Linked DNA regions of Homo sapiens: regions 1, 3 and 4 are each linked to region 2. Evidence: promoter capture Hi-C in 16 types of primary human blood cells and fetal thymus (Javierre and others, 2016). All regions are on one chromosome and are shown on one strand. Each heading gives the region's core, a stretch centred on a gene start or on the middle of the fragment in contact. The rest is flanking DNA. Distances are from core to core; before and after follow the strand shown.

Evidence for each region. Contacts are between HindIII fragments. The CHiCAGO score rates a contact against its expected background, and 5 or more counts as called.
Region 1: a fragment that was not itself captured here is called in contact with the fragment with the promoter of LINC02295 in region 2 in 3 of 17 cell types (naive CD4 T cells, total CD4 T cells and naive CD8 T cells); the score reaches 6.8 in naive CD4 T cells.
Region 3: a contact is called between a fragment that was not itself captured here and the fragment with the promoter of LINC02295 in region 2, in 8 of 17 cell types (M2 macrophages, M0 macrophages, M1 macrophages and 5 more). The highest score is 14.0, in M2 macrophages.
Region 4: a fragment that was not itself captured here is called in contact with the fragment with the promoter of LINC02295 in region 2 in 7 of 17 cell types (naive CD4 T cells, naive CD8 T cells, M1 macrophages and 4 more); the score reaches 8.6 in naive CD4 T cells.

Annotation. Positions count from the first base shown.
Region 1 is chr14:99,163,695-99,166,394 of GRCh38, forward strand. No RefSeq gene overlaps it. Among named protein-coding and RNA genes, the nearest start is that of BCL11B, 110 kb to the right of the region's middle. The HindIII fragment of the contact is 1,913 bases long and covers 346-2,258 here.
Region 2 is chr14:98,134,581-98,137,280 of GRCh38, forward strand. It overlaps LINC02295 (long intergenic non-protein coding RNA 2295), which reads left to right and starts at 1,407. Exons shown (of 3, transcript NR_184268.1): 1 at 1,407-1,617. The region is part of intron 1 of LOC105370655 (a long non-coding RNA gene); the gene reads right to left. The HindIII fragment of the contact is 6,410 bases long and covers 1-2,700 here.
Region 3 is chr14:99,279,413-99,282,284 of GRCh38, forward strand. LOC105370660 (a long non-coding RNA gene) reads right to left here. Exons shown (of 3, transcript XR_001750881.2): 3 at 599-2,325. Among named protein-coding and RNA genes, the nearest start is that of BCL11B, 8.7 kb to the left of the region's middle. The HindIII fragment of the contact is 8,266 bases long and covers 1-2,872 here.
Region 4 is chr14:99,217,567-99,220,266 of GRCh38, forward strand. All of the region lies in intron 3 of BCL11B (BCL11 transcription factor B), which reads right to left. Among named protein-coding and RNA genes, the nearest start is that of BCL11B, 53 kb to the right of the region's middle. The HindIII fragment of the contact is 6,562 bases long and covers 1-2,700 here.

The sequences.
Region 1 (2,700 bases), core at 52-2,551, 1.0 Mb after region 2:
TTCGTGTGATTCATTGCATCTTCATGAGACCACAAGTAGGTAACTAACCCCGTAATGTGTCCATCATGAACACCTCTCCAATACCATGTATGTTATTCTGACAACAGTATTTTTGATAAATGCCTGATGTTCCATTGCATTGACATCCTATCCCTTGCTTATCTAATCCCCTGTTACTGGGCATTTTCTTTATTTCCAGTTTTTGCTATTGTAAATATAGATACAGTGAACATCTTTGGGGCTAAATCTTTGGCTGTATTAGAGCTTCCTTAATTATTTTAGAGATTAATAAAAAAAAAAAAAGATGGCTCGTGATGTGCTTAGTGTTGGTTATGCAGAGAGCAAAGCTTTTCCACATCATCCAGGGGTGATTGCATACAGACCTCCATGGGCGTCAGAAAATCACCATTAGCCAAGCAAATGGCTCCAGGGGATGGAAGATCCTGGCGAGACATCTGTGAGAGTCCATCCAGCACACATTCATTTGAATATTTTCAGTTGCGAAGACAACAAGACTAACTTCCTGAAAATTTGGAAAAGGTAGGAGAAATACCTTCCTGAAGAGCCTTTCCTCCCAAGCATCTGCATCTGATACACATCCATGTCCACACAACCTTCAGCTAGATCATTTAGACTCACAGCCTACGAACATTTTCTCTTCTTTTAAAAGTTAACATTATCTCATACACAGTTTTCCTGTTGCTACCAAAGTCTTCATCCCCCTCATTTTCGATGTGTGTAAATACTCCATAATGAACAGGCTCTTCTTCACTCATTCACTCCTTTACTGTTGAACACGGAGGCAGCTTCCAAAATTTCGCTATCATGCACGTCATTCCCTGGCATATTTTGTCTGCATGAAAAATAAGCAGTGTATCTACGTTTCTTTTTTCCCTTTGGCTAAAAAGAATCTTAGACTCAAATTTATGATTTAAGTATAGCAACGTATGGCCGTCTTCTCTAGGCAATATTTTTGCATAGGTGTAGACATCTTACTAGAGCTTTTAATCTCTCTGATCCTGATATTTCGCTGCTTGTTTATGCTTTATTACATTTCCTATTGGTCTGCTCACAATCTTGAGGAATGAAGAAGGATGCAAATTATTAACAGAGTATTTAATGAAATGCTGAGATGGCCATCCTCCTCTCTCTAGGAATCGCAAATAAGTATTCTTAGTATGGTTTCCAAAAATGACGTCACCAGATCAAATAGTCAGAAGAACATCTGGGCCCTTGATACACACCACCCCAGAGCTTTGCAAAGGGAAGAGGGAAAAGTGGTTGAAACATGATACAGGTAACAAAGCTGAACCCTCAATTAAACCTCCAAACGCAGGCAAGAGGGCTGGGTTGTGCCAAGTGCCAAAGGTAGTCAGAGGTCTGAGGTGATACCTGCGGTCTGCCCCCTCATTTTTTTCTTTCGCTTACCAACCCCTCAGCTCTACACGATTGCTTCCCCGCTGCACCATAGGACAAGGAGCAGATGCTTAGTAAGATCTTGCTGATGGAAAGAAGTCGGACTAGGAAAAGAGAAGGCAGGAAGGAGGCACTCTCCCTATCCTCAGTAGCTCCTAGTTTTGCTGGGAGGCCAGCCTAGCCTTTGCAAACGGCAGCCTGCAGTGCATTTTCAGTCAAAAAAACAAAAAGCCCTTATGGGGCCTGGCCAATGAGCAAATGCATCAGCATCACTTTCTTGTTTTGAGATTTGGATAGGTAGGGAACCACCCACATCCTCTAGACAGCACCTCTGGGCTTACATCTTGGGATGCATCCTAAACTGGGCATTACTTATTTTAAATATTTTTAATTATAAAAGATCACAGAAACACAATTTCATTTTCGTTATGGTCTATGAGAAATAAGCCACAGTAAAGGGTGACAGTTTGGGCTGTGGCCTGGCACAGTGGAGCAAGTGCTGGTTTTCCTTGTCTGTAATGAAGGGCATGAACATTTCCTCCAGCCTCCTGGTAGACCCTATGCTCCTGTCCAGCAGACTGAGCCCTGATTGTCTGTTCACTGCCTCCCCAGCTAATCAGGAGTTCTTCCAGGGCAGGTACTGCACCCCCTGGCCTAGGAGGGTGAGGCATGCAGTAGGAACTCCAGGAGAGTTAAGGGAATAAACAACTAAGCAGATAGATAGATGGATGTCCCATCCTGCCCACTGAAGGGCAAACTCTGGGAAGGCAGGGGGGAGTCGTACTGACCCCTATCTTCCCAGCAGGGTCTGTGATACTGCAGAAATGTTTATTACACAAACAAGCTTGTGGCTGGCTGGATGAATAAGTGGCTGTATGGACAAATGGATGGATGTACTACACGCTAGTGTTTGGGAGACTGTTTCTGATATGGTTTGGCTGTGTCCCTACCCAAATCTCATCTTGAATTGTAGCTCCCATAATTCCTATGTGTCATGGGACGGACCAAGTAGGAGGTAATTGAATCATGGGGGCGGGTCTTCCCCATGCTGTTCTTATGATAGTGAATAAGTCTCATGAGATCTGATGGTTTTATAAAGGGGAGTTCCCCTACACAAGTTCTCTCTTGCCGGCCACCATATAAGACGTGCCTTTTGCCTTCCACCATGATTGTGAGGCCTCCCAAGCCACATGGAACTGTGAGTTCATTAAACCTCTTTTTCTTTATAAAGTACCCAGTCTCGGGTATGTTTTACCGGCAGTGTGAAAACGAACTAATACAGTT
Region 2 (2,700 bases), core at 157-2,656:
GCAACATACGTCATTCATGGCTGTGTGTGTCCATAAATATGTGTGTGTATATATATATGCATGTATATATGTATCTATATGTATGATAAAAAATAAAAATAACAACTACAACAACAAAAAAACAGAACATGGAAGTAAAAAAAGAGAGTGATTTTCCAGCAGGTTCCTGCAGAGCCCTTCTCTTGATTCCTGAGAGGTTCAATTAACGGATGCAAGTCATAAAACAGTGCATTTTCTCTCTGCTATGATGCATTGTTTTTAATCTCACTGCCTTGTATTATATCACATTCCTATAATTCTTCCGACAGGAAAAGGCTTGTTTCATAAAAATATAGTCCCCAGCATTTGAAATATAAGTTCACATGCAAGCAACATATATATCACCAAGCTGGCAAACTAACTCACTTACTTAATCCACTAAACTTCAGGTGCTTTCTATATTATGTGAAATGGCTTGAAACAGGCAGAAGCTGCCAGGACCCATCACGGCTTCTTTGCTCAAGAGAGACAAGAGGAGAAGGGGAGAAGGGAGCGGGGGGAGTGGAAATTCCCTCAGTGGATTCCACAATAACATGCCTTTCATTATCACCCAGTGTCAGGACACTGGGTAATGTTCATTGTGCATGCACAATAAATTACTATTTACCTGGCAGTGCTTTTGATAAGCTCGTCTCCTCACCCCCTTTCTGTCCATGCAGCACAGAGCAGCGAAACCCCTTTGCCTATAATTCTTATTAAGGTGATACCTTTTCTGAATAAGAAAGTACACACTTCCAAAGCTGGCACTCTCTGGGGTTTTTAAGGGACATTGTTTTTATTGGTTCCCTTTTATTTCTTCCACCCCACTGTGTTTTAATGCTATAGTGACTTCTGTGTATACAACTCTCATATTGAAATGTCGGCTGCAGATATATGCAATATTAAAGAGCGCTTATGAATTTTTGACATCTAATTAGTCGCTACCCTGTTAACATGTCAGGACTCAGAGGGATTAGGGAGGCAGCCCTTTCTGAATAAGTTACAGTGAGGCTCCTGTCCTTTTCATGTATTATTCTTTAATGTAGGTGGTGATTATTTGGCTGTGATTAATTGATGAAGCCCATTGGTCTGGCAAGTGGTGCCGAATTCACCATTCCTCACTTTTATTTCTCTCAGTAGGGTTCTGCCACTTAATCGGAAGGACCTGCTTCCTTCCAGGCAATCTCTCTGTGCAGCGTTCTGGGGCAGAGGGACTGTTCTGGGTGACCCACCTAGACCCTTTCACAGCTCTTGGCTCCCTGGTCAGCAGTGGGTTTTGCATCCTGTCTTCTTGGACAAGCCCTGTGCCCTGTGCCCCCTGGCCAGGCATGTCTGAAATGCAGTGGCACCCCCTATACAAAGGCTTCCTGTTGCTCCCCTTTTCTCTCATATCTGATTTTCGAGCCTTGCTTTCTGGTACCTTTAACACCTGTAGCTCCCTGCCTGGCTCAGTTTACTTCTGGGTTCAGCTGCCTGCCAAGACGCCAGGTGACAATCGGGGCTCTCCAAGGCCGCTCCTGCCATTGTCTCCAGCTGTGGGGCCCAAGAAACCACACACGTGAGATGCACAGTCTGATATGGCCGGCTCTGCCCCTCTGGGTAAGTGATACCAAGCTCTAAAAAAAGGCAACAATGAGAAGCGGATGTTGGGGAGAGGGGACCTGCTGGCTGCTGCTTTTGGGCACTGCCCCATGGGTGTCAAACACCCTGCTGTGTGCAGGCAGCTTCCGCCTCCTAGGAACTCTATGCCCACACAGTCCTCCCAGAAGCTCCTGTCCCAGCTCCCTGGGCTCCCACGGAGGAATCCTCTTTCACAGTGGGTTCTTAGGAATGTCAGATCTGATAGTCTTGGATTTGAAGCTGGGCAAGATTTTTAACATTTTAGATAAAGCAAGCAGGGAAATGATTTGTGAGTATAGCTCTGTGTTTAAGCACAGGGAGAGGGAGGTGTTTTCTGCTTCACCGCATGACTCCCCTTCCATACACCCACATGTGCATGCAGGCACACACATGTATACACACAGGTGCATGCATCCATACACACAGACCCACACATGTACACATACAGGCCCACACACACCCATAGATAGACACACACACTCCCAGGTACACATGCAGGTGCACACACCCATGCACACACAGGCATACACAGGTACACACACAGACACACACTCTCTCTCCCACAGCTTTCTAGACAAAGGCTCTGCCATCAGACTTTCGTACCCTGGCCTCCTGGTTTTATGAACAAATAATTCCTTTTTTTGCAAAGCAGAATTCCCCGCCCCCATTATAAACTCCCACCATTCAAATCTATAATTGGGGGAGTAACAGAGCTGTGGCCGACTTATCTTTTTAAATGCACCGACCCTGGACGAGCCATCCTAAAAATGTGTAATTATAAATAAACCTTCACCTATGTCAGCTGGCAGGGTTTTTAATTACTGCACTTGATGTCAATCAAGGCCAGCTCTGGGTATGCATGTTAGGGGGCAATTTCAGAGGAATTTTGCGGACATAAGCTGTTTGCCTTATTCTATTATCTGCATTTAAAAGGGGAGAGGAGGAGATAAGGCGACAGCCAGGAGGGGAGAGAGAAAGAGCAGCTCATGGAAAGAAAATGGTGGGGGAGGCATTTTACCGAGGCTGCAGCATCCTGCTGGGGCTGGGGAGGGCAGATACTGG
Region 3 (2,872 bases), core at 13-2,512, 1.1 Mb after region 2:
GAAGAAATTTTGTTGTAGCAATTATGTTCAGCAAGATGACAAAATAAATTTCCAGAGCTGTGCCTGCAGTAACCTGGGGAATTTAAACCTCATAATTTCCATTCATTTCAGATAATTTGGAGTAATTTCTATATGTAATAACTTTGTAATGAAAAACACAGCGGTACTGAAGTGATTTCGCTCCGTTTTTTTCTCCTATGGTATACATGGCACAAAATAAATGATAAAAATAATATTTCCTTTTTATATGTGTGTGTGTTGAGTAATTCCTTCAGTAAAAATCATAAACTAATACCCAGACTAAATCTCTGTCCACAAAATGAAAAATAAATTGAGTTAAAGAAAGTGAAAAAGTATGAAGGGCTTTGGATGCTTTATTGTGACTTTATTGAATTGTTTTGTTCCCATGCTCCCTCTGATCCCTAAGGGTTACAGTTCCCAAGTAAGGGGCAAATGCAGGGGAGCCCCAGATGGCTCAGAGGAGGTAGCAGGGGGACCCCCAAAGGCCAGGAAACCCTCGCCAGATGGTGATTTCTCCCCAGAAGCATAAGAGACTCGTTCTCCTCTTGAGATGAGCATCTTTAACGGTTGATTTCACTGCGACTGGAAAGGACCTGGTAGGCTGGTCAGTGGTCCTGTCAGTTCTGACATATTTCCTCCTTTAATTAAAGACAAGGCAAGGTGGAGCACCAGTGCCCTGCCCGACCTATGACGGTGACACCTGCCACTGATGTATGCAGCCCCTGAATGCCACGATTTATTCATCGGAAGCTCCCACTGAGCTGTGAGAAGGTGACAGGAATTACAGCAGCTGCATTAGCTCCCAGATCCACGCGATTAGCCTCTGCCACTGCCACGGTGCACATCAAGGGTTTCCTCAAAGTGAAAAATCGAGGCGTCATTCCCTAAAACCTGCCTGCTAGTAGTCACAGCTAGTGACTGTCAGTAGCCTCCCCACCAGCCATGAGGGCTGCCTGCTGCCTTGAAGTAGAATGGCTCCCCTGCCCTGCAAACCCTGGCCTGCTACATGCTGCCAGGGTGCCCATCTGGAAGCTCAGGCTTTGGCTGAGTCGGCTGGGGAAAGGGCATTCATTTCTCAGGCTCTGTGGTCTCCCTGTCAGATGGGCTTCACCGCTCTGTATAAGCGGTGATGAGTGGGTCTTAGCAAAGCGCCTGGCCCGGTCTCTCGCCATGCAGCAGTCGCATCATAAGCATGGCTGTGATTTGTTCCTTCAACAACACACGCGGATGGGACGCCTGCTGTATGCCAAGCACACCATGGGGGACAGGGCCCAAAGATGGCAATATTGTGAGGTGGTGGTACTGAGGTTCCAAGTTCAGGCAAGCCTGAATCTGACACACCACCCCAGCTCCAAAGAACAGAGCAAGGGAAAACAAAAGTTGATGACATAGTTCAGCAATTATAGTAGTGAGAGTACAGCCCATCACATGGACTCATGGCCATGTGTCCCAAGTGCCATGGGAGCAAAGCAGCAGGGCTCAGGGGTCCTGAGCACAGATTGCAGAATTCTTCCAAGACCCTCAAGACCTACTCATTCAAAGAGACACTCTGTCTAATTACATTGTGAGGCATTTATCTTATCTAATCCTCAGAAGAGAAAGACTTTCATCCCCCTTAGACAGGAAACCCGAAGTCAGCCACCACGAGGTAGAGCCCAAATCACCCCAGGTCTGTCTCTGTGTATAACCACTATGCCGTCCTATACCCAGGTTGGATTTCCAGCCATCCTGCAAGCCAATAACAGGCAGCTGAAAACATCACCAGATGTGGAACCAGAACAGCAAAGACAAAGTCAGTGCTGGATCGAGACATGGAGGAAGGAAGAGAATTACAGAGAAACAAAGTTTGCATTAAGGACACAGTATACTCAGTTAGTAGAAGAGATTTTGTTTGTTTGTTTGTTTGTTTGAGACAGCAAAATCCAACAAGACACACCACGGTTATGAAACCAGATAATTGAGGCAGAGAGAAATGGGGTGGAGAGAGTGGGGTAAGACAGACGTTTCTGCTGGTAAAATTTGAAACAGACAAACAACTCATGTTGGGACAGAGTTTTAGTGTACAAAGCCCTTTTGCTTCCCTGACTTGAGTTTGTCCTCCCAGCAGCCTGTGAGAAAAGCAGGACAGGGCACACACAGCTTGATATACGCCTCCGAGATCGCCAGGGTCAAGTCTCCGCTGCGCCCGCTGCTAGCTGCAAAAGCCTTCATGCGGTTTCTCTTCTCGACATCCCAGGTCCTCCTCTATCAACGCCTCTGTGAGCATCTCATCAGATGACCTCTCAGAAAGCCCCCAGCACAGGCCTGGCACAGAGGAGGCATTGAATAAATGATAGATATTATTATGGAGGCGTTTTACTCATGAAACAAGAGATTCACATTCAACTCAGTCTAAGGTACACACGTCAATATTTCAGGAATGAAATGGGAAATTTCCCCCAGATTTCACTGGTACATAATCGACTAATATTGATGAAGCATCTTGTCTCAGCGCTGCTGTAACAAAATACCTGAGACCGCGTAATGTATACAGAATAGATATTGCCGGGCGCAGTGGCTCATGCCTGTAATCCCAGCACTTTGGGAGGCCAAGGCGGGCAGATCACCTGAGGTCAGGAGTTCAAGACCAGCCTGGCCAACATGGTGAAACCCCATCTCTACAAAAATACAAAAATTAGCCAGGCATGATGGTAGGTGCCTGTAATCCCAGCTACTCAGGATGCTGAAACAGGAGAATCGCTTGAGCTTGGGAGGCGGAGGTTACAGTGAGCCGAGATCACGCCATTTTACTCCAGCCTGGGTGACAGAGTGAGACTCCATCTCAAAAAAAAAAAAAAAAAAAAAAAAAGAA
Region 4 (2,700 bases), core at 122-2,621, 1.1 Mb after region 2:
CCGCTCAGACCCTGTCAGGTCCACCTTATCCAGGGGGAACCCCCACCCCCTGGCCTCTGAGCTGAGCCAGCTGCTGTTCTCTCAATGCTACTGGCTTCCAGACTGGGGGTAGCCAGGACACCCCAGGCTCCAGCACCTACAGAAGCCACGGTAGGCTGGTGGAACACCTCTCCTCAAATGCATGCTCAGACAAATGGTGCTCAGAACTGGGCTCCTTAACCTCTGACCCCGCCGCCTGCCACCACCCCGTCCCCACAGGCTTCAGGTGTGCTCTGACTTGGTGACATCATCACATGCCAGTGGGCTCCGAACTCCACTCCCTGAAAACATGCACCATGTCTTAAAAGATGCAAACTAAAAATATTTCTGGCTTCTCAGAGCCAGTTTACAAAAATAATTATATTTTCTTTTAAAATCTGGATTATAGGCAAGTGTGTGTCCAGTTATTTTTAGCTCCTATTCAACTCTGTTAATTCTCATAATAATCATTGCAGGTTTTTTTTTTTTTTTTTTTTTTGAGACAGAGTCTCACTCTGTTGCCCAGGCTAGAGTGCAGTGGCGCGATCTCAGCTCACTTCAAGCTCCGCCTCCCAGGTTCACGCCATTCTCCTGCCTCAGCCTCCCAAGTAGCTGGGACTACAGGCACCCGCCACCATGCCTGGCTAATTTTTTTTTTTTTTTTTTTTTGTATTTTTACTAGAGACAGGGTTTCACCATGTTAGCCAGGATGGTCTCGATCCCCTGACCTCGTGATCCGCCCGCCTCGGCCTCCCAAAGTGCTGGGATTACAGGCATGAGCCACTGCGCCCGGCCACAGATTTTTTTAAGCCATCTCCCCGCCCTATCGTTAATAGTTGTGTTCTGACTCAGCATGGGGGCAGAGCTGGGGGCCACATGTGACCACACTGCCTTCCATAAACACAGAAGTCTGAGTGCTAGCCGAAGGGCCAGGCATTTCAGAATCACCACATTCCTGAGAAAAAAAGGAACATGTGTCCATCTTGTCAAAAGCCAGCTCCAGCTTCAATGCAGGAGACATTTGGGGAATCCCCTGTAAGTGCCTGAACCTGTCCCAGACCTCAGTTCACCGAGACCAGCTGGGTTTCCTGCCCTGGAAGGGCCTAGAATCCAGCAAGAGGCATGCAGAGAAGATTGGATGGAGCCACCTGAAATAAGCTGTCCACAGCTAGATCCCAGGACCTGTAAATGTGAGCTTATTTAGGGGCAAGGTCACTGCAGGTGTGACTAAGTGAAGGCTGTTGATGAGATCATTCTGGATGGTCTAGGTGGGTCCTGAATCCAAAGACAATTGTCTTTTTTATTTTAATTGTTCAGAAGAGAAGTCAAACCCAGAGGAGAAAGCTGTGTGCCCACAGAGGCAGGGAATCAGGGAGCACGGCCCTGCCGACCCCTCCATCTTGGACCTGTGGCCTCCCAAACTGTGAGAAAATACATTTCTTTTCTTTTTTTTATTTCTTCTTTTTTTTTTTTTGAGACAGGGTCTCACTGTGTTGCCCAAGGCTGGAGTGCAGTGGCACGATCTCGGCTCATGGCAGCCTCAACCTCCCTGGGCTCAAGGGCTCCTCCTGCCTCCACCTCCCCAGTAGCTGGGATTACAGGTGTATGCCACCATTCTTGGCTAATTTTTTTAGAGAATGGGTTTCGCCATGTTGCCCAGGCTGGTCTTGAACTGCTGGGCTCAAGAGATCCACCCACCTCAGCCTCCCAAAGTGCTGGGATTACAGGCGTGAGCCACCGCACCCGACCACAGAATCAATTTCTTATTGTCTTAGGCTACCCAGTCTGTGCCCATTTGCTACGGCAGCCCTGGGACACCAATACAGGACAATAGAGAGAAAGCACAACCACTAATAAGAATCATCGCAATTACCATCCCGATATACAAAGGACCCAAGGCCACTCCCTTGAGATTCCCTGTCCCCAGTCCCTCCCCGCCCAGCCAAGGAAGCAAAACCAGTGTGATGATTCCCATCAGGCAGGGAGACCCCACAAGGCTCAGAGAGGGCCAAAGCGTGCACAGGACACCGAGTGAGCTCTATCTCGCTCCTAGGGATTCTGATTCCAAATACGGGGCTCCTTCTGCTAAGTCACACTCAAATCAACACCCTGAAGACACAACAGAAAGAACAATGAAAATTGTCCATTTGTAGAATTTTCTTCCCCAAGCTATCAAGGTAGCTAAATGTTTAGCTTTGTTATAAAAAATAAAGATAAAAAATAAAAATTAAAAAAAAAAAAGCTGTCCTGGGAGACAGAACTGAGAACTGCCATGGGCAACCATTTCCAAGACAAAGGGGATTCAAGACCCTCAACTAAAATATACTGAAGGTGGTAGCCCCCAGCAGTCCAGTGGTGACTATAGGGCCACACCTAGGCTGGCTGAGGCTGGATTCAAACCGCCCTCAGGTTTATTACCCACCTAACTTGGACCAGTTGTTGCCACATCCCTGAGAGGCAGGTTCCTTGGCTATCAACTCCAACAGTCCAAAAAACACTAAAATTACCCAACAGTCAGATAAGGATGCGGAGAAATGAGAACCTCTGTGCACTGTTGGTGAGAATGTAAAACAGCGTAGCCACTATAGAAAACGGTTTGGCAATTCCTCAAAAAATTAAATATAGGATTACCCTTTGACGCAGAAACTCCACTTCCGCAGAAACTCCAAAAGAACTGAAAGC